Linked DNA regions of Homo sapiens: regions 2, 3 and 4 are each linked to region 1. The links are contacts of gene promoters, found by promoter capture Hi-C in human tissues and cell types (Jung and others, 2019). All regions are on one chromosome and are shown on one strand. Each heading gives the region's core, a stretch centred on a gene start or on the middle of the fragment in contact. The rest is flanking DNA. Distances are from core to core; before and after follow the strand shown. Region 1 holds the start of FBXO6 (F-box protein 6). Region 2 overlaps DISP3 (dispatched RND transporter family member 3). Region 3 has its middle 67 kb from the start of DISP3. Region 4 overlaps MTHFR (methylenetetrahydrofolate reductase).

Region 1 (4,529 bases), core at 1,437-3,936:
CAGAGACGGAGCACCTGAGATGTGGGAGGTGCAGCATGTTCCCCTGGGCCCCTCAGAAAGTCGAGCTTGGAGGCCAGCCTGGATCTGTCTCTCCCTTCCCCTCCTGGGACCATTCTACCTGTGTTCTTTGACCCTCGGAGCAGGGACAGGCAAGACAACTGGCAAGCTTGCAGCTGCCCTGATGGTGCAGGTGCAGGGAGGTGACCATGTAACTCTGACCAATCTGGGAAGTGGAGGGTGGGCTCATGGGCCGTGCTCTGCCCCTGTCTGCTGCTCCCAGTCTCTCGCTCTGCCTGCCTGCTCAGAAGAGGTGGCTTTGGCCCAGAGGCTCAGGCCGGGACTGAGATGGACAGACCCAGGGTGGGGTGGGGTCCAGGTCGGGTGTGGACTGTCCTCACTGTCAGTGGAGCCCCAGAAGCTAGATGGGTACCAGGTGGGGTTAGGTTCCCAGAGGACTGAGGGAATCCTGTACAGGATGTCCCAGGGTAGATGGGGAGCAGGATTGGGACCTGCTCTGACAGCTGGACACATGAGCCCTGGATGAGTATGGTAGGGGGTTTGAAGAATCCCCTGTCCACCTCCCAAATCCAGGCCCGGCCCCCTCTGGCTTGGAGAGCATTCCAAGCCCCCACCCCACCCCTAGAACTGCCATTCCCAAGACCTCTGTCTCCCAGCCAACCACCCTTGGAACTTGCCTCTTGTCCTGCTGGAAAGATAGCAGTGTTCTCCTGACTTCGCCCTACTGCATGCAGCCAAATAAAAGGTGTGCCCAGTCTAACCTGTGCCCTGTGGTTTCTGGAAGGAAAGGCAGACTTTAGGTGGTCCTGCCTGGACCTGCAGATGGTACAATGGCATGGCTTCTGTCTAAGGTACAGAGGGGTTGGCATTTCAGGAACCAGGCCATCACAGAAACAGGTTCATGGGCAGACCCCTCAGTGAGCTGCAGGTATCTCACCTGGCAGCCGTCCAGTACTGCTGGCTTCCTCTGGAGGCCCAGCCACAGGCTGGGGTTGGGGTGTGTGGACATCTCTGGGCAGCTCTTGAGTCCACCTTGTGCCAGATCAGCAGTGCCACCCAGGCTCTGCCTCCTGGTGTTACTCTTTGCCAACAGCTTTACGGACATTGGATGAAGCCGAAGCATTTAGAATGGTGCCTGGCACACAGTTGGTGCGTGATATGGTTAAGCTTTGTGTCCCCACCCACATCTCATCTTGAATGGTAATCCTGGGTGTTTAGGGAGAGACCTGGTGGGAAGTGATTGGATTATGGGAGCGGTTTTCCCCCATGCTGTTCTCATGATAGTGAGTGAGTTCTCACGAGATCTGATGGTTTTACAAGTGACGGTTTCCCCGGCTCCCTCCTGCCGCCATGTGAAGAAGGTCGTTGCTTCCCCTTCACCTTCCACCACCATGATTGTAAGTTCCTTTTTTCTTTTCTTTTCTTTTTTTTTTTTTTTTTTTTGAGATGGAGTCTCGCTCTGTCGCCCAGGCTGGAGTGCAGTGGCGCAATCTCAGCTCACTGCAAGCTCTGCCTCCCAGGTTCGCGCCATTCACCTGCCTCAGCCTCTGGAGTAGCTGAGACTACAGGCGCCCACCACCATGCCCGGCTAATTTTGTTTGTATTTTTAGTAGAGATGGAGTTTCACCATGTTGGCCAGGGTGGTCTCAATCTCCTGACCTCGTGATCCACCCACCTCGACCTCCCAAAGTGCTGAGATTACAGGCGTGAGCCACCGCGCCCAGCGATTGTTTCTTGAGGCTTCCCCAGCCATATGGAACTATAAGTCAATTAAACCTCTTTCCTTTTATAAATCACCCAGTCTCGGGTATTTCTTTATAGCAGTGTGAACATGGACTATAATCCAGTGCTCAATAAGTACTCCTCACATTTAGCTATCTCAGTCAAGGGTGAGCTAGATAAGGGCTTTGGCCAGGGCAGGATCACCACCCACCAGCCCATGGCAAACTGCAAAAGGACGGCCTTCCACGGAGAACATGTAGCCCTGACTGCAATTAATGTGTCCTGGGCCAGTCCCCTTGTGCAGTACACAGCCTGCACAACCCTTGGTGGTTGCCTGAACAAGGTGCTTGCTAAATATTTGTTGACTGATGGAAGAAATTCATGAACTTAATCCTGATAAAAAACCTCAGAGGTTTTTTATTTTTTGAGACAAGGTCTGGCTCTGTCGCCCAGGCTGCAGTGCAGTGGTACAGTCTCCACTCACTGCAGCCTCCCAGGTTCAAGCGATTCTCCCACCTCAGCCTCCGGAGGAGCTGGGATTATAGACCTGTGCCACCACGCCCGGCTAATTTTTGTATATTTAGTAGAGACAGGGTTTTTGCCATGTTGGCCAGGCTGGTCTCGAACTCCTGACCTCAAGCGATCCTCCCCACCTCGGCCTCCCAAAGTGCTGGGATCACAGGCGTTAGCCACCTCCTAGCACCTCAGGTTTTTTACCTTTGAGTCTATGAAGCCTGCGGAGGTCACGCCCTAGGGAAAGAAGGAGCCCACTGGGTGTCAGGTCCTGCCTCTAGGGAGGGGACCGCGGGTCAAGGGTGGAGCCCTGGGCCGCATAAGGAAGGAACTAGTGCGGAGGTCCGGGGAGCGGCCGCGCGTTCGGGAGCTTCGGCCCTGCGTAGGAGGCGGGTGCAGGTGTGGGTGCTGAGCCGCCCGCCGCCTGGAGGGGGAGACAGCTTCAGGACACGCAGGCCGCAGCGAGGGCCCGGGCCCTGGGGATCCCAGGTTCGTCTTCCCGCGGCGAGGGTTAGGGGCCGGGCCGAGAGGGACGGCAGCGGGGTCCGGGGCGGGGGTGGGGACCGAGCGCAGCGCGTGACGCGGCGGCGGGGCCCAGCGACAACGAAGCCGAGGCCGTAGGCTCGGGCCGACCTGGAGCTCCGCCGCTGCGCCCAGGTCGCGTCCCCGGGGGGACGGGCGGCGGGCGAGTGGGGAGCCGGGGTCTCCGGCGCCTGGGCGTTCACGGAGCCTGCGGGCGCTGGTCCGGGCGGCCAGGGGTGGGGGGCGCGGGCGGCTGGGCCCGGACTTCGACTGGGGGCCTGGCCCCGGGGCCACCCAGGCGGAGGCTCTGCGGCCGCCTCCACCCCGGCCACATCCCGAGGCCGGCGCCGGGTTCGGAGAACTGTCAAGGGACCTCCAGGCCCCCACACGCCTGCGAGATCCGGCGCTTGCCTTGCCCCAGCCACAGTTTCTGTTTCCGAGAAACCGGTGAAGTAACAATGCCACTAGAGCTTGCTGGGAGGGTGGGTGCGGAGAAGGCGAGCACGAGACGCCGGGCCGGGCAGTTGGGGACCCCGATCGGTGTGAGAGGGCTTCCTAGGGCTGGCATGGACTTCCCCACCACAAAATGCCCAGGGCCGGGGGGGGGAAGGGGCGCAAGAAAATGCGGACTGGGCCAGAGACCAGACTTCGGTCACCACGGTGGGAAGCTATTGGTGCCTAGATGCCTCTAGCTTGGAGCCCAGTGACTTTTATTTCGTCTAGAGTCTAGACAGTGCCTTTAGAAGCTGCCAGCATTTATTTATTTATTTATTTATGGCAGAGTCTTGCTCTGTCACCCAGGCTGGAGTGCAGTGGCATGATCACGGCTCACTGCAGCCTCGACTTCCTGGGCTCAAGCGTTCCTCCTGCCTCAGCCTCCTGCATAGCTGGGACTACAGGCACGGGCCACCAGGCCTAGCTAATTTCTTTTTTTTTTTTTTTTTTTTTTTTTTTGAGACGGAGTGTCGCTCTGTCGCCCAGGCTGGAGTGCAGTGGCGCGATCTCAGCTCACTGCAAGCTCCGCCTCCCGGGTTCAGGCCGTCCTCCTGCCTCAGCCTCCCGAGTAGCTGGGACTACAGGCACCTGCTTCTCGAGTAGCTGGGACTACAGGCACCTGCAACCAAGCCCGGCTAATTTTTTGTATTTTTAGTAGAGATGGAGTTTCACTGTGTTAGCCAGGACGGTCTCGATCTCCTAACCTCGTGATCCGCCCACCTCGGCCTCCCAAAGTGCTGGGATTACAGGCGTGAGCCACCGCGCCCGGCCTTTTTTTTTTTTTTTTTTTTTTTTGAGACAGATTCTCACTCTGTTGCCCAGGCTGGAGTGCAGTGGCACGATCTCGGCTCACTGCAACCTCCGCTTCCCGGGTTCAGGTGATTCTCCTGCCTCACCCTCCCGAGTAGCTGGGACTACAGGCGTCCGCCACCACGCCCAGCTAATTTTTGTATTTTTAGTAGAGACGGGGTTTCGCCATATTGGCCAGGCTGGTCTCGAACTCCTGATCTTGTGATCCGCCCGCCTCGGCCTACCGAAGTGCTGGGAATACAGGCCTGAGTCTGTGCACCCGACCTAATTTCTTTTTTTCTAGAGACAGAGTCTCACTATGTTGCCTAGACTACAAGCATTTTTAATTGACAACTTTTACATTTTTTTTCAAATGCTTACAGTTGCTTCTCAGAACTTAGAAGACTTGGCCACATTGGGTTTTTTTGTTATTTTTTTTTTCCATCAAAGCATTTTTCTTTTCTCTTTTT
Region 2 (6,476 bases), core at 2,688-5,187, 140 kb before region 1:
AGCTCCGAGAGGCACCAGAAGAGCCCCTCACACTTCGGAGCCAGCCCTGGCCACGTCCCCAGCTCCTCTACCCCACTGCCAGGATGTGGCATTGCTCCCCATCATCACCGCCGCCACAGGCCTCCTGCCCACAGATGGACAAACCCCGAAGCTCCCTGACAACATCTGGGGCCAGGACCCAGCCAGAGCCCAGCCAGGACCCAGCCAGAGCCCAGCCAGGACCCAGCCAAGACCCAGCCAGGACCCAGCCAGAGCCCAGCCAGGACCCAGCCAGAGCCCAGCCAGAGCCCAGCCAGGGCCCAGCCAGAGCCCAGCCAGGACCCAGCCAGAGCCCAGCCAGGGCCCAGCCAGGACCCAGCCAGGGCCCAGCCAGGGCCCAGCCAGGGCCCAGCCAGGACCCAGCCAGGACCCAGCCAGGACCCAGCCAGGGCCCAGCCAGAGCCCAGCCAGGACCCAGCCAGGACCCAGCCAGAGCCCAGCCAGGACCCAGCCAGAGCCCAGCCAGGACCCAGCCAGAGCCCAGCCAGAGCCCAGCCAGGACCCAGCCAGAGCCCAGCCAGGACCCAGCAAGGACCCAGCCAGGACCCAGCCAGAGCCCAACCAGGACCCAGCCAGGACCCAGCCGGAGCCCAGCCAGAGCCCAGCCCCTACTCCCTGTGCCTCTTCCTCTGGGAACTGCCTCTTGGAGGGACCCCTTCAGAGTACAGCAGAGTGCTTCGGCTTTACAAAGGGCAGGCGAGGCCAGAACCCAGCGGGGCTGCAAGTCCCTCCCTGGGCAGGTCCTTTCACCTCTGCTTTCCACTCCATCAAGTGGGGTTCATGGGAACAGCCTCAGGATGGCTGTGAGGATTAAAACTTTGAAGGTGTAGTTCTCTCATTTCTAATTTAAAAAACCCAAAGGAAGGGCTAACACACAACGCTTGAGGCAAAACAGGAATATATGTCTCCCACCATGTCTGCCAGCTGATGACCTTGGGTCACTCTAACAGTCACTCCTGTTAATTGGATGCAGAGGATGTGATGTCCCACCCCCGAGGGAAGTGTGGCATCATCTCCACCCGACAGAGGCGGCAGAGTGGCACAGAGAGGGTGAGCACGGGGGCAGAGTGGCACAGAGAGGGCAAGCGGGGGCAGAGTGGCACAGAGACAGCAAGCAGGGGGCAGAGTGGCACAGAGAGGGCGAGCAGGGGGCAGAGTGGCACAGAGAGGGCGAGCAGGGGGCAGAGTGGCACAGAGATGGCAAGCAGGGGGCAGAGTGGCACAGAGACGGCGAGCAGGGGGCAGAGTGGCACAGAGACAGCAAGCAGGGGGCAGAGTGGCACAGAGAGGGCGAGCAGGGAGCGTTTCAGTGTTTTTCTCTGGGCAGGCTGATGGTGCCTTTCTCTGGGCCTAAAATTCCTATAAATTTGGTATTTGATTTTTTAAAAGTTCTTTCTAGTTTCTTTCTGACCCCTGACACCCACCCCCTCCAGTCCCTGGGCCCCAGTTCCTGAGACTGTCTCAGATCCCAGCCTCTTCCCTCTGCCCATCGGGCCCAGGCCAGGATGTCCTGCTGTCCTGCTGTCCTTGACATGGCGCTGGGGGGCAGGTCTGTTCCAGGAGAAGCCCCACAGCCTGCAGAACAACATCCGGACGTCCCTGGAGAAGAAGAGGCGAGGCTCAGGGGTCCCCTGGGCTAGCCGGCCTGAGGCCACCCTGCAGGGTGAGCACTGGGGGTGGAGGGTGGGGAAATCCTCCCTGGTGCTAGGGTTGAAGGCCCTGTAAGGAGAGCAGATAAAATTCCTTCTGGATTCTCCTTCAAGAAGGAGATTGTGTGTTCCTGGTCACTGCAGAGGAGCTGGGGATGGGGGGTGAATTTGGGGCCCTCACCTCCCATCCCGCCAGGACAGTAGGCTCCCGCGACACCCTGGTCTGTGGTGCCCCCAGAGCCTCCCTGTGCACCAAAGCCACCCTGAGTGTCCAGGGGCAGAGGTGGGCATCCTGGGCCCTGAACACTGGCTTGTCCCTGCTGGAGTCTCCCTCAGAGGTGGGTGCTGGGTCAAGTGTACTGGGGGAATGAATGCCCCATCAGGCAGCTGTGTCTGTCCCTGTCACCCTATGGCACTGTTGCCACCTCTCTCCTACTACTGTCACTCCCAGCACCAGCCCTGTACCAACACTAGCACATTTTCAGCAGGATGCCCTCCATCACTGTCACCTCCGCTATCTAGTCCACCCCATCCCAGTGACTACCACCTCCCCCACCATCCCTACCACCCCATCCAGTGCCCACGACCTCCCCCACCATCCCTCCTACCCCATCCCTGTGCCCACCATCCCTGCCACCCCATCCCAGTGACTACCACCTCCCCCACCATCCCTGCCACCCCATCCCTGTGCCTACCATCTCCCCCACCATCCCTGCCACCCCATCCCTGTGCCTACCATCTCCCCCATCATCCCTGCCACCCCATCCCTGTGCCTACCATCTCCCCCATCATCCCTGCCACCCCATCCCTGTGCCTATCTCCCCCACCATCTCTGCCACCCCATCCCCGTGCCCACTATCTCCCCCACCATCCCTGCCACCCCATCTCTGTGCCCACTATCTCCCTCACCACCTCCCCCACCATCCCTGCCACCCCATCCTGTGCCCACCACCTCCCCCACTATTATTGCCATGGACCTGGTCCAGTAGAGAGGGGCACAGCCAGCATTTTGAGATGAGCCCAAGGCCAGGACTGAGCTCGTTAGTCGACAGAGCTGAGGGTGGGCTGCTCCAGGGTCAGGAGAAGCCAGTCGAGGTCAAGTCCACCCCTCTTTCATCCCTTATTTGTCCGTAGATTTCCCAGGCACCGTGTACATCTCTAAAGTGAAGAGTCAAGGCCACCCCGCTGTCTACAGGCTCTCCCTCAATGCCAGCCTGCCTGCTCCTTGGCAGGCTGTGTCGCCTGGGGATGGAGAGGTGCCCTCCTTCCAGGTGAGCCTGGGCTGTCGTGAAGTGAGCCGCCACCACTGTGGGTGGTGGGGGGCTCTCAGGGCCACACTGGTGGGCAGCCCTGGCCAATAGGGAGGGAGAAGCAGCTTTGAGGATGAAGACCCCCCTCCCCTAAACCAGCCATGTCTGTGACAGGGACCTGCCGAGTGGTAGCAGCGTGGGCTTCTGAGTCAGCCAGGCCTGGATTCAAATCCTGGCTCTGCCATTTATTAACTGTGTGTCTTTAGGCAGATTACTTACTCTCTGAGCCTCAGTTTCCTCATCTGTGACATGGGGATGCAACAAGCACCAGCCAGCATTGTTGGAGGGGTGTGAGGTGAGGCCTGTGCCGTGCAGAACGCCTGGGTGCAGTCCCTCCTCAGGCAGTGGCGGCCAGGAATCTTGCTGTCCTTGGTAGCTGCTCCAGCGCTGCAGAAAGGAGTCCCCGAGCCCAGACTTGAGTTTTCCCCTTCATGGGAGTCATTTGTGTTTCTTTTCTTTTTCTTGGGGGTGGGGGGAGGACAGGGGCTTGCTCTGTCACCCAGGCTGGAGTGCAGTGGCATGATCATAGCTCACTGCAGCCTCGACCTCCTGGGCTCAAGCGATCCTCTCTCATCAGCCTCCTGAGTAGCTGTGACCACAGGCACACACCACCATGCCAGCTAATTTTATCTTTTATTTTTTGTAGAGACAGGGTCTCTCTGTGTAGCCCAGGCTCATTTGTGTTTCTTTAACGTGGTACACACCCTCCATGGTGACAGGGACACGCGCCAATTCATTTGTTCAGGATTTATATTTCCATTTGGAAGATGAGGTCTCTGAGGCTTTTCCTGCCTCTAAGCCTCGCATGTGCAGTTCCCACTGCCTGAAAAGCTTTTCCTTCAGCTTCGTGCGTGGCTGACTCCTAGGTGCTCGTTCAGGTCTCAACATGCCTGTTGGTCCCCACAGAGCCCTGCCCCGGCGCCTTTCTCGCCTTGCCCTCCTCTCCCTGCCATTTATCCTGTCTTGTCTTCCTTATTCTTGGAAGCCATCATCATTGCCAGCTCCAAGAGGTCAGGGACCGTGCCCCTCAGAGCCTGGCACAGTGCCTGGCATGGGACAGACACTCAGTGAATGATTGTTGAAGGAAGAAACAAGGCTCAGAGAGGGAGGAAGGGATTTGCCCAAGTGCTGAACTCAAACCCAGGCCTCCCAAGCCTCTGCCCAGGGCTCTGTCCCCAACTCCGAGGACTGGGACAGGGTGAACTATGCCGAGGAGGGAGGGGACGGAGCCTGAGGCTGGCCCAGGCCGAGGCAGCCCCCCCGAGTCATGTGTCTTGTCTCTGTCAACCCACTGCTTAGGTGTATAGAGCGCCTTTTGGTAACTTCACCAAGAAGCTGACCGCTTGTATGTCTACAGTAGGGCTGCTCCAGGCGGCGAGCCCCTCCCGCAAGTGGATGCTGACGACCTTGGCCTGTGATGCCAAGCGGGGCTGGAAGTTTGACTTCAGCTTCTACGTGGCCACCAAGGAGCAGCAGCACACCCGGTAACAGAGCCTGGCAGACAAGCCGGTGCCCATCAGCCCGGCTGCTTCTTTGCCCTTTTCTCTCTTTTCTCTCTCTTTTCACATGAGGGATGCCAGCAGGCCCCCTCACTTTTTTTTTTTTTTCTTACTCTGTTGCCCAGGCTGGAGTGCAGTGGCACAATCTTGGCTCACTGTAACCTCTGCCTCCCAGGTTCAAGTGATTCTTCTGCCTCATCCTCCTGAGTAGCTGGGATTACAGACATGCACCACCACTGGTACCTGCTTAATTTTTGTATTTTTAGTAGAGATGGGGTTTTGCCATGTTGGCCAGGCTGGTCTTAAACTCCTGAGCTCAGGTGATTCACCTGCCTTGGCCTCCCAAAGTGCTGGGATTACAGGCGTGAGCCACTGCACCCAGCCCTGAGGGATGCCAGCAGACTCCTTTAAGAAACTGCTGGCCAGGTGCGGTGGCTCATGCCTGTAATCCCACCTCGGGAGGCCGAGGTGGGCGGATCACGAGGTCAGCCGATCGAGACCATCCTGGCTAACACAGTGAAACTCCTTCTCTACTAAAAATACAAAAAATTAGCCAGGCATGGTGGCACGCACCTGTAATCCCAGCTACTCAGGAGGCTGAGGCAGGAGAATCACTTGAACCCAGAGGCAGAGGTTGCAGTGAGCCGAGATCGCGCCTCTGCACTCCAGCCTGGGCAACAGAGCGAGACTCCATCTCAAAAAAAAAAAAAAAGAGAAAAAGAAACTGCTGTCCATTTCCACCTACCTGCTCAGATGGGTCTCTGCCCAGGGCTGGGGAGTGGAGAACATTGGCAAAGAGACGGGCCCGGGAGCTGCTCCCCACCTTGATAGCTCCTCAGGGGTTGCAGTGGCCACCTGGCTGTCCCTCTGGCATACCAGGCCCCTTTCCATCTCAGGCCCTTTGCATTTACTGCTCTCTGTGCCTAGAATGCTTTTCCCAGCTCCTCAAGTGTGAGACAACTTCTCAAGATTCAAGTCCCTGTCCAAAAGTCACCTCTTGGGAGAGGCTGTCCCTCTCCAAGTGCCACATCCAGCCTCTCTCCATACGTCACCCACTGCTCTCCTGGCCCCATTGCCACCTGCCACCATGCTGACCTGCAGTGTTACCTGTCTTCCCACAGGAGCACACAGGCATCCTGTGGTAGCACCTTGGCCGTCTCATTTGGTGCCGCCTCCCCAGCACCTGTCACGGGTGTCTGGCGTAGTAGGTACAAATAAGTACTTGCTGAATGAATGAATGAGTACACTCCACACTTCCTTGACAAGGCACTCACCCACACTCTAAATATATCATTAATTCAGAAAATGTTTATTTAATGCCCCTGCCCCTTCTGCTGGAAGGAGAGCGAGGGGAGGGCCCCTGTTGTATTCACTTGCCACAGGCCCAGTCCCTGCTAGCACCCAGTGTGAAGTCGGGTCCCTACTACATGCCGAGTCAGAGGCTGCATTCTGTGCTCTCGGGATCTCCACGCCATCCAGGGGCACCTTTTCTGGGGTTTCATTCCCCATGTTGTAAACACAGCCCTGCATCCATTTATCTGTGGAGGCCATATTAGCCAAAGGTCTCCTCTCTCTGCCGTTCACTGATTTAACAAACTGTGGGCTTCAACTGTGCTGGCACTGTGCTAGGGATATGGTAGTGACAAAGACAGATGTGACTCCTGCCCTCGAGCTGTCTAGTGGGAGACAGGCCACTAACAAGTAAACAGCGATATCATTACAAACTATGATACGTGCTCTGAAAGAAATAGCCCCACTGTCATTGTGGAGAACAGTGGTACAAGGCCATGCTCGGTGACACACAGGGACTGTGGTCTCTGACAGAACTCGGTGATACGCGGGGACTGTGGTCTCTGACGGGGCTCGGTGACACACAGGCACTGTGGTCTCTGACAGAACTTGGTGATGCACGGGGACTGTGGTCTCCGATGGGGCTCAGTGACACATGGAGACTGGTCTCTGACGGGGCTAGCTTTGGA
Region 3 (6,463 bases), core at 3,743-6,242, 250 kb before region 1:
GCAGAAGAAAAGTTGGAAGCTATCAGAGGTTGGTTCATGAGGTTTAAGGAAAGAAGACCTCTCCATAACAAAAGTGCAAGGCGAAGCAGCGAGTGCTGATGGGGAAGCTGCAGCAAGTTATGCAGGAGATCCAGCTAAGATTCTTTTTTTTTTTCACGGCAAAGATGCCATAGCATTTTATTACCATTACAAAAGTCAACCAATGATATTTTCATTGAAATATCTGCACTGAATGATGATTCCACATATGAGGCAAAGAGGGATGTCTTTGGAGACGGCACTTTAGTAGGACATTAGCAAATCATACCGGTTGGCTAAAACAAAAAATGAGTTATTTATACCTGGCCGGAGGCCTGTTAGGGCTGTTCCTTCTCACTGTGGCCTGATTAAAAACCGGTGGCATTAAGAAAGTGTCCGCATTTCCCACAGTCTGTGGGTGCCCCAGTGGGGTGGTGCTGCTCTCAAAAGCTCTGTGTCCCTAAACACATGCTTTCTCACGCGATCAGTTTCCCCAAGTGCTAATTCCAAAAATAGACTCAGAGCTGGCAGAAATTGTTCAGGAAGCTTCTTGAAAGCCCTCTCCATTTCTCAGTCTGACTTTCAGCTGTCCCAGCTACTGTAAGCAGCTTCAGCTTCCCAAGATCACTAGCAACTTCTGCTTATGCTGATATCCTTGGTTTTACATGGCACTGGTTGTGACTGGCTGTTAGACTAGTCGCCCACCAATTAAGTGCACCTCTATTTCACACCCTTTTCTTGAATCTGGGCTGGGCTTCCAGTTAAGATCCTTGATGACTCTAAACTTGATGATCCTTGGCTACACTAAACAACAGATTTTCAGTGCAGATGAAACAGCCTTCTATTGGAAGAAAGATGGCATCTAGGAATTTTTCCTAGCTAGAGAGGAGGTCAATGCCTGGCTTCAAGGCTGGCTCTATTTTTAGGGGCCAATGCAGCTGATGGCTTTAATAGAAGCCAATGTTTATTTACCATTCTGAGAATCCTAGAGCTCTTAAGAATTATGCTAAGTAGGCCGGGTGCAGTGCCTCATGCCTGTAATCCCAGCACTTTGGGAGCCCAAAGTGGGCAGATCACCTGAGGTTGGGAATTCGAGACCAGCCTGACCAACAAGGAGAAACCCTGTCTCTACTAAAAATACAAAATTAGACAGGTAAGGTGGTGCGTGCCTGTAATCCCAGCTACTTGGGAGGCTGAGGCAAGAGGATTGCTTGAACCCGGGAGGCGGAGGTTGCAGTGAGCCAAGATCATGCCATTGCACTCTGGGCTGGGTAACATGAGCAAAACTCCATCTTAAGGAAAAAAAAAAAAAGAATTATGCTAAATCTACTCTGCTTGTGCACTATAAATGGAACAACAAAGTCTGGATGGTAGCACATCTGTTTACAGCATGGTTTACTGCATATTTTAAGCCCATTTTTAAGACCTACTGCTCAGAAAAAAAGATTCCTTTCAAAATATTACCACTGATGGACGAGGCACCTGGTCACCCAAGAGGTCTGACGGAGTTGTGCAAGGAGATTAATGTTTTCATGCCTGCGAACACAGCATCCATTCTGCAGCAAACTAGCATCAAGGAGGAATTTTCACTTTCAAGTCTTATCATTTAAGAAATGCACTTTGTAACACTAAAGCTGCCATAGATTGTGATTCCTCTGATGGATCTGGGCAAAGTAAATTGAAAACCTTCTGGAAAGGATTCACCATGCTCCTTTCTATCAAGAACATTTGTGATTAATGGGAGGAGGTAAAAAATCCACATTAACAGGAGTTTGGAAGAAGTTGATTCCAACCCTCATGGATGACTTTGAGGGGTTCAAGACTTCAGTGGAGGAAAGAACTGCCGATGTGGTGGAAATAGCAAGGGAACTAGAATTAGAAGCAGAGCCTGAAGATGTGACTGAATTGCTGCAATCTTATGATCAAACTTGAACAGATGAGGAGTTGCTTCTTATGGCTGAGCAAAGAAAGTATTTTCTTGAGACTGAATCTACTCCTGGTGAAGATGCTGCGAACATTGAACTGTGAACTGTGAACATTGCTGAAATGACAACAAAGGATTTAGAATATTACATAAACTTAGTTAATAAAGCAGCAGCAGTGTTTTCAATGTTGAAAGAAGTTCTATGGGAAAAATGCTATCATCAAACAGTATCACATGTTACAGAGAAAATCTTTCATGAAAAGAAGAGTCAATCAATGTGCAAACTTCATTGTTGTCTTATTTTAAGGAATTGCCACAGACATCCCAACCTTCAGCAACCGCCACCCTGATTGGTCAACAGCTGTCAACATCCAGGCAAGACCCTTCACCAGCAAAAAGATGATGACTCAGTGAAGGCTCAGATGATTGGTAGCACTTTTTAGCAATAAAATATTTTAAAGTTAAAGTCTGTACATTGTTTTTTTGGACATAATTCTGTTGCACACTTAAGAGACTACAGTATAGTGTAAATGTAACTTGTACATGCACTGGGAAACCAAGAAATTTATATGACTTGCTTTATTGCAATACTTGCTTGGTTGCAGTCGTCTGGAACTGAACCCACAATATCTCCAAGGTGTGTCTGTACACAAACACAACAACTGCTGCCATTTACTGAGGTTCTCTGCTGTGCCAGGCACTGTGCCCAGTACTCTGCATGTATCATCTTATTGACTGCTCTCGCCAACCCCATGAAGGGGCAGTAGTATTAACCCACAATGAAGAAACTGAGGCATGGAGAAGTTAATAACCTACCCTAGGATGCATAGTTGCAAGATGGCAGAACCATAATTGGAAAGTAGGCCATCTGGCTTAGGACTGGGATCTTGGCCTCTTTGCTAAGGGATTGCCCCCCCACCCCCACCATCCTTTCCACCCTCCTGCCTTGAATACAACTCCCCCCAGCCCTGCCCGATCTTTAACTCCCCCTCAACCACCTGGCCCATCAGTGACCTCCTAGCCCTGCCATGAAATCTGGGCCAGCCCCATGCTGGGGCATGGCTCCCAGCCTGTCCTTAGAAAGACATACTCCCTGCCAAAAAGCAGCTCAATGAAGAGGACATGGTGAGGGCAGCCCCATTAATATTCCTTCCTTCTGTCATTTTGGCAGGAAACAGTGAGATCCTGGAGAGGCGGGGAAGGGGGAGGGGGCAGTGAGTGTGGGGCTGTATACCTGACAAGAGGAGACGTCTTATGGCATCATTCATGAGGGTGGGTTTAATCCTGGCAGAGGGATCAGGATGGGTGGAGGGATGGGAGGCATCTTCAGAAGGGAACCCCAAAGGATGGGGAGGGATGGCCTGGAATAGATAAAGGGTGAGGAGCCTGGGTGCCCCCTACCCAGGAAGGCAGAAGCAAGGCCACCTCCCTACGATAGTCTTTACAACCAGCCCGACCAGTCATGTGTCATATAAGTGCACACGCACACATACACGCACACACACATGCACACTGCTGTGCACTCCCTGAGGAGGGTCCAGTGCGGTCTGAGCCATGTCTTTGTCCCCAGCACACTTAGCTCAGAGCCTGGCCCTCAATCATGAATATGTGCTGAACAGATCCTGGTTTATGTATTTTAAAATTTTTTAAATTATAGTCATGCTTTGCTAATGACAGCGTCAGAGGCTGATAAATGCATCATTAGGTGATTTCGTCCTTGTGTGAACGTCATAGCGTGTATTTACACACACCTAGATGGCGTAGCCTATTCCACACCTAGGCTCTATGGTAGAGCCCGTTGCTCCTAGGCTGCAAACCTGCACAGTGTGTGTGTCCCAAATGCTCTCGGCAGCTGCTAACACCGTAGTATTCGTGTATCACAACATATGTGAACATAAGAAAGGCACAGTAAATATATTGTATTATCGTCCTACGGGACCACCGTCATCTATGTGGCCGTCGTGGGCCAACACATTGGTGTGAAGCACATGGCCGACCACGTGTTGTATCTGAATCTAGGTCGACCCACTGTGCGATTAAACACCAAAGTAGCGTATTATGGAGAAAAAGTGAAATTCTCTCCCTCCTTTATCCCACCGCTTTCTCTGCTCCCCACCAAGGTAAACACTGTTAGCAGTTTGGCAGCCTCCTCCTTCCGCAGGGTTTCCAGAAGGCATGAATCTGTAATCTCACGAAGCGGGCAACACACACACACACACACACACACACACACACACACACACACACGCTTTGGGACCCACCACCCTTCCTTTATTTTCCCCTCCTCCATTTCCTCCCTCCCCCAGCCCCCTCCGCCACTGCCGTGGCCCTGGTGCTGGACTCAGCAGGGATTCACAGCAGGACAGCAGAGGCTGTCCTCACCCTTCCCAGTATTCCTCCTCTGCTGAGAGGGAGGGACATGGGCATGGATAGGGGAGGGTGGCAGTAGGTGGAGGTTCCCCAGGAGGTGTCCCTAAAGGGTAGGGAGAGAAATTGGAAGACCCAAGATTGGCTGCATTTCTAGCTGAGACTCTTTCGTGATAGCTCTCCCTCCTCCCTCCTCCCTCTTTCCTCCTCCCTCTTTCCTCCTCCCTCTTTCCTCCTCCCTCTTTCCTCCTCCCTCCTCCCTCTTTCCTCCTCCCTCCTCCCTCTTTCCTCCTCCCTCCTTCTCCCCCTTCTCCTCCTCCCCCTCCTCCTCCTTCTCCTCCTCAACTGGAGCCCAGCCTTGTATCTCTTGCTCCAATGCGGAGCCTTGCATGGAGGTCTCAGCTTGCTCTGAAAGCTTGTCATGTCTGTGTTTAATGAAGTTTAATTATCTTCCAAGATTCAATGAATAATTATAAATCTTTTCAAGATGCAATCACACGGGTTCATGCTTCATTAACAGTGGAAAATCAATTGTAATTCGCGTAATTCCTTTCTTCTGGAGATCAGTCTGTTTGTACACGCGCTCCCCTCCTCACCCTGCTTTGTCTGCCCCAAGAAGTACAAAGGATGCCTGGCTTTTTCCTCCAGAATTGACGAGCCTTGTCAGGAGCAGGGAGGAGAGCGAGGCCCAGCTGGAGCAGGTGGGGGAGGGGAGGGAGAGAAAAATGGTCCCAGGGGAATAGGCCTGGGGAGCTATTTCTAGGAGGCAGAGCTGGGGGATGAGGGATTGGAGGGCAGAGGGGAGGAGTCTACAAGGCTATGAGGAGGCAGAGTGTTTCTTAACTTTTTAGGGGGGTCCCAGACCCCTTTAAAAACCTGTTGAGGCCAGACACAGTGGTTCACACCTGTAATCCCAGCACTTTAGGAGGCCGAGTACTGGTTATTTGAGGTTGGGAGTTCAAGACCAGCCTGGCCAACATGGTGAAACCCTGTCTCTATTAAAAATACAAAAATTAGCCGGGTGTAGTGGCACACACCTGTAATCCCAGCTACTCAGGAGGCTGAGGCAGGAGAATCGCTTGAACCCAGGAGGCAGAGGTTGCAGTGAGCCGAGATGGCACCACTGCATTCCAACCTGGGTGACAGAGCAAGACTCCGTTTCAAAAAAAAAAGTCTGTTTAAACTATTGACGCCCCCAGAAAAATGATATTCTGAGGGTGTCACCTTGCTTTCAGGGTGTTACATCCTGAGGTCCTTTCCAGCTGCTCTGACCTCCTAGGGGTCGCAGATAACTGTGAGAATACGAGGCTGCTTCTTAGTAATGTTGGACATTCTTTTAGCTCCAAGAAATCCAGAGCCCCTGCTGGGAGCTGGGTGCCATCTGCGGCCCAGCTCCAAGAGAAACTGCCTCGCTTTTCTCCAAACCACAGACGACAGCCCTGGGCCAGGGCAGCTGTGCCCGAGCCTCGTCTTCTCTGAGATGTCTGCCGCCAACAGCGCCACTGACCGGCACAGCCTTGTTGCAGACAACACTTAGCTTTCTCTCGAAGGTGGCAAGTTGCCCGCGTCTGCACAGCAGAGGAGAGTGGGGCTCTGTAAGGGACTTCAGGGGCCACAAAGATATGGGGAAGTCCTTATCCAATTAGCCAGACCACTGGAGGGAGTGGAGGAAAGAAAGCTGTTCTGCAGATATCTGGACTCTTCAAAGTGAATAGAGGATGAGGACCTCCGACCTCTTGCTGCGGGCGGTTTCTTCCCTGAACTTCAGTCCTCAGCCTCTAAGCTGCGCTGTCTAATGGAACTTTCTGTCCAGTGTAGTAGCCACCGGCCATATGTGACTATTTCAATTTAAGTTAATATCAAAGAAAATTAAAAATTCAGTTGCTCGGCTGCATTAGCCACGTTTCAAGTGCTCAAGAGCCACACGTGGCCTGTGGCTGGTGTATTGGACAACACAGACATAGAACAGAATCATCATTAAAGAAAATTCGACAGACGATGCAGGTCTAGGGTCTGTAGTGCATGTCTGCAATCCATCAGATCTCATGAGCTGCCCCTAGACTTCGATTAAGTATTAGTTTCCTATGGCTGCTATAACAAATCACCCCAAACTTAGTGGCTTAAAGCAACACAAATGTATTTCCTAATGGTTTT
Region 4 (3,702 bases), core at 188-2,687, 130 kb after region 1:
ATCTAACCCAGCTGTTCCCATGCTGCACTGATCATCCGAATCACCTGCCAAGCTCAAGAAGTAAAACACACATTCCGAGGACCTCCCTCAGATTTACTGAGTGAGAACCTCCAGGGGTGGGACCTGGAGATCCACTTTTTGAAAAAGCTTATCAAGTGGTTCTGATGACAGCCACCTTTGGGAAACACTGATTTAAGCAGGATTTGTAATGAGAATTAGAATCCCTTTTGGTGATGCTTGTTGGCCAAAGTACAACAAACCCCTCAACAGACACTGTTGCTGGGTTTTGGGGGGAAAATTAGAGGTAACCAAAATGGGGTGGCCAAGCAACGCTGTGCAAGTTCTGGACCTGAGAGGAGATCTGGGAAGAACTCAGCGAACTCAGCACTCCACCCAGAGCCCCCAGCCTGTGCGAGGACGGTGCGGTGAGAGTGGGGTGGAGGGAGCTTATGGGCTCTCCTGGGCCCCTCACCTGGATGGGAAAGATCCCGGGGACGATGGGGCAAGTGATGCCCATGTCGGTGCATGCCTTCACAAAGCGGAAGAATGTGTCAGCCTCAAAGAAAAGCTGCGTGATGATGAAATCGGCTCCCGCAGACACCTTCTCCTTCAAGTGCTTCAGGTCAGCCTCAAAGCTCCCTGCTTCGGGGTGGCCTTTGGGGTAACCTGCCAATAGGGATGACAGTCAGGAGAGGCTGGCCTCCACCTGTTCAAGGCGAGGGATGAAGAGACCACAGGGACTGGGCAGAGAGAGTCCTCTGCTTTGGGGGCTCTGATCTTGCACCTTCCAACAGCACAGCACAGCCTGAACTAAAACAGTGAGTGGCTGGGCTCATGACTGATATGCTTCTGACCCCAGAGATGACTCTCAGGGGAGGTGGCTCAGAGCCCAGTTCCAAGAGTGGGGGTGGATTGCTCCAAACTCCCACACTGTCCTGCCTTGAGCAGCCAAGCAAATCAGGCCTGCACTTGGTGGCCATAGAAAAGAGAAAATGCTACAGTTAGCACTGGCTGGGCAGCATCTGGGGTAGTAAGCTTGACTTTTCTCTAGGCACCGGATTAAACATTGTTTTTAATGTAACACTGAAATTACTCAGGGGTCCAAGATAGTGAAAAGCTAAAAACCAAGTTACACAAGGAAGAACTGAAGAAAGTGATGTTTTCTTCAAAGAAAATAATGGATGGCAGGGTGCGGTGGCTCATGTCTGTAATCCCAGCACTTTGGGAGGCCAAGGCAGGAGGATGACCTGAGGTCAGGAGTTCGAGACCAGCCTGGCCAACATGGTAAAACCCCGTCTCTACCAAAAATACAAAAATTAGCCAGGTGTGGTGGTGTATGCCTGTAATAGCTACTCAGGAGGCTGAGTCAGGAAAATTGCTTGAACCCACGAGACAGAGGTTGCAGTGAGCCGAGATCGTACCATTGCACTCTAGCCTGGGCAACGAGAGCGAAACTCCGTCTCAAAAAAAAAAAAAAAAAAAAGAATGAAAAGAATACAGAAACTCCTTTCAAATGTCCAAAGGTCTGTCCTGGGGAAAAAGGATCCACCATAGGTGAGTTTGTTTTGTTTTGTTTCAGAGACAGGGTCTTGCTCTGTCACCCAGGCTAGAGTGCAGTGATACAATCATGGCTCACTGTAGCCTTGAACTCCCGGGCACAAGTGATCTCCCACTTCAGTCTCCTGAGTAGCTTGGACTACAGATGCAAGCCACCACATCTGGCTAATTAAAAAAAATTTTTTTAATTAATTATTTATTTTTTAGAGATGGGGTCTTGCTATCTTGTCCAGGTTTGTCTGGAACTTCTGGGCTCAAGCAATCCTCCCACCTTGGCCTCCCAAAGTGCTGAGATTACAGGCATGAGCCACTGTACCCAGCCCCCTAGTGAAGTTCTTTATTAGTCATATTCTGTGTTGTTTCTAATGGCAGAACCAGCATCCGGTTCAGAGAGCTGGCTAGAGTACTATAAGCCACTCACAAAACAATGAGCTCCTGGAGTCTGAAAACACAGGGGCAGTGGATGCTGAAGACAAGATTCCAGAATTGCTTAGGAGGTGGGATCAGATGTCCCATAGGCTCCTTACTGGCTCTGTGAACTCTCTGACCCCTTTCCTCAATGACTAAACTTACTAGCCGCCTTGCTCGGTCAGGCAAGCAGGATGACCATAGGCCTTCATGAAACTACATGGAGTGCTGGTTTCATCAGCCCAAGCCCAGGGCAGGACTCTGAGCCAGGCGGAAGGCCAAGCTGCTTTGCTCTGATAAGGCAGTTCCGTTCTTAAGAAACCCAGAGTCATCAAAAAATGAATATAAAAACTATTGTTTCAAGGGGTAAGGGAGTGGGGGATAAAGCAATGGGGCTTCACACTTGCAATAACAAAGCTATTTTCCCAGTAGGAATTTCAGAAACAACAAGGCTTTTTAATAGCTGAAAAGTATAGCTACAATACCTAAATATCACCGAACAAATCTAGCATTTGATTACGTATAGATTTTGCTATTTACTCTATTTTTCTATCATGAACAGCTGAGGGCTTTCTTTTTTAAAATGTTTTTATTTTTTGTAGAGACACGGTCTCACTGTGTTGCCCAGGCTGGTCTTGATCTCCTGCCTCAGTCTCCCAAAGCTCTGGGATTACAGGCATGAGCTACCATGCCCAACAGGTTGGTGTTTTCTAATCCACTCATCTTCATTACCCACTTGATAAGCAAAGTAAGAAACCATTCAGCAACTGTGAGCTCACAGCTTCACTAGTTTCCAATCATTATCACCTAACGCCCATCACGGGTGCATATTCCCCCAGTAACTGACTATATAATGGCTGATACAAGCGATGACAATTTAACAGTTGGAAATGTCTGTTCTCTGACTCCTAATCAGTGCTTCCCAGACTTAGCACCTAAACACCCCTGTTGACAGAATGGACATGTCCATCGGGGGTTAGGGACAAGGCCAAAGTTACTCACAACATGTAATTTTCTTGAAGCCACGTGGTTTGTTTTTTGGGTTTTTTGTTTTGTTTTTTTTGAGACGGAGTCTGGCTCTGTTGCCCAGGCTACAGTGCATTGGTGCGATCTCGGCTCACTGCAAGCTCCGCCTCCTGGGTTCAAGCGATTCTCCTGCCTCAGCCTACCAAGTAGCTGGGACTACAGGCACGCGCCACCATGCCCGGCTAATTTTTGTATTTTTAGTAGAGACGGGGTTTCACTATGTTGGACAGGATGGTCTCAAACTCCTGATCTCATGATCCACCCGCCTTGGCCTCCCAAAGTGCTGGGATTATAGGCTTCAGCCACCGCACCTGGCCTTTTTTTTTTAGTTCATATCACTTTAGATGCTACTCCATAACATAGCCATGTTTAATATAAAAATGGTAGGATTTCTCCCAGAATATTGGCAAAAAAACTGTCATCCCAGAAAATGTGCCAATCCCGGGACTTCCTGTCCCTGGTGCACACTGTCTTGCCATACCTGAGCGCTGTCTGAGACGCTGAGGGCTCAATGCCAGCCTTCAGCTTCAAGGGTGGGAGAGAAGTCCAACCCACCCATTTCTGTTGGGGGAACCTGGTCTTGTGGCTGTGGCCAATGGTGATTCTCTTTCCTGGGAATTTGGAACGGAGGCCTGTCCATTAGCCTGGGGAACTGGCTGGAACTGACACTCTGCACACTCAGGAGCAGGCCAGGTGTGTGGAAAAGCATGG

Evidence for each region. The method cuts DNA at HindIII sites, captures the fragments that hold promoters and counts their contacts. A contact is called where the count stands out against the background at its distance.
Region 2: a contact is called between a fragment that was not itself captured here and the fragment with the promoter of FBXO6 in region 1, in 1 of the 25 tissues and cell types used here (adrenal gland).
Region 3: a fragment that was not itself captured here is called in contact with the fragment with the promoter of FBXO6 in region 1 in 3 of the 25 tissues and cell types used here (mesendoderm cells, neural progenitor cells and thymus).
Region 4: a fragment that was not itself captured here is called in contact with the fragment with the promoter of FBXO6 in region 1 in 2 of the 25 tissues and cell types used here (dorsolateral prefrontal cortex and spleen).

The regions. Positions count from the first base shown.
Region 1 is chr1:11,661,514-11,666,042 of GRCh38, forward strand. FBXO6 (F-box protein 6) reads left to right here and starts at 2,687. Exons shown (of 6, transcript NM_018438.6): 1 at 2,687-2,742. It overlaps FBXO44 (F-box protein 44), which reads left to right. Exons shown (of 6, transcript NM_033182.7): 6 at 1-1,814. RefSeq lists silencers at 2,753-2,972, 3,023-3,092 and an enhancer at 3,213-3,262. The HindIII fragment of the contact is 9,200 bases long and covers 676-4,529 here.
Region 2 is chr1:11,522,354-11,528,829 of GRCh38, forward strand. DISP3 (dispatched RND transporter family member 3) reads left to right here. Exons shown (of 21, transcript NM_020780.2): 11 at 1,589-1,702; 12 at 2,823-2,959; 13 at 4,298-4,482. Among named protein-coding and RNA genes, the nearest start is that of DISP3, 46 kb to the left of the region's middle. The HindIII fragment of the contact is 5,869 bases long and covers 1,004-6,476 here.
Region 3 is chr1:11,409,316-11,415,778 of GRCh38, forward strand. No RefSeq gene overlaps it. Among named protein-coding and RNA genes, the nearest start is that of DISP3, 67 kb to the right of the region's middle. The HindIII fragment of the contact is 9,718 bases long and covers 134-6,463 here.
Region 4 is chr1:11,795,734-11,799,435 of GRCh38, forward strand. It overlaps MTHFR (methylenetetrahydrofolate reductase), which reads right to left. Exons shown (of 12, transcript NM_005957.5): 5 at 473-666. Among named protein-coding and RNA genes, the nearest start is that of MTHFR, 8.4 kb to the right of the region's middle. The HindIII fragment of the contact is 7,275 bases long and covers 1-3,702 here.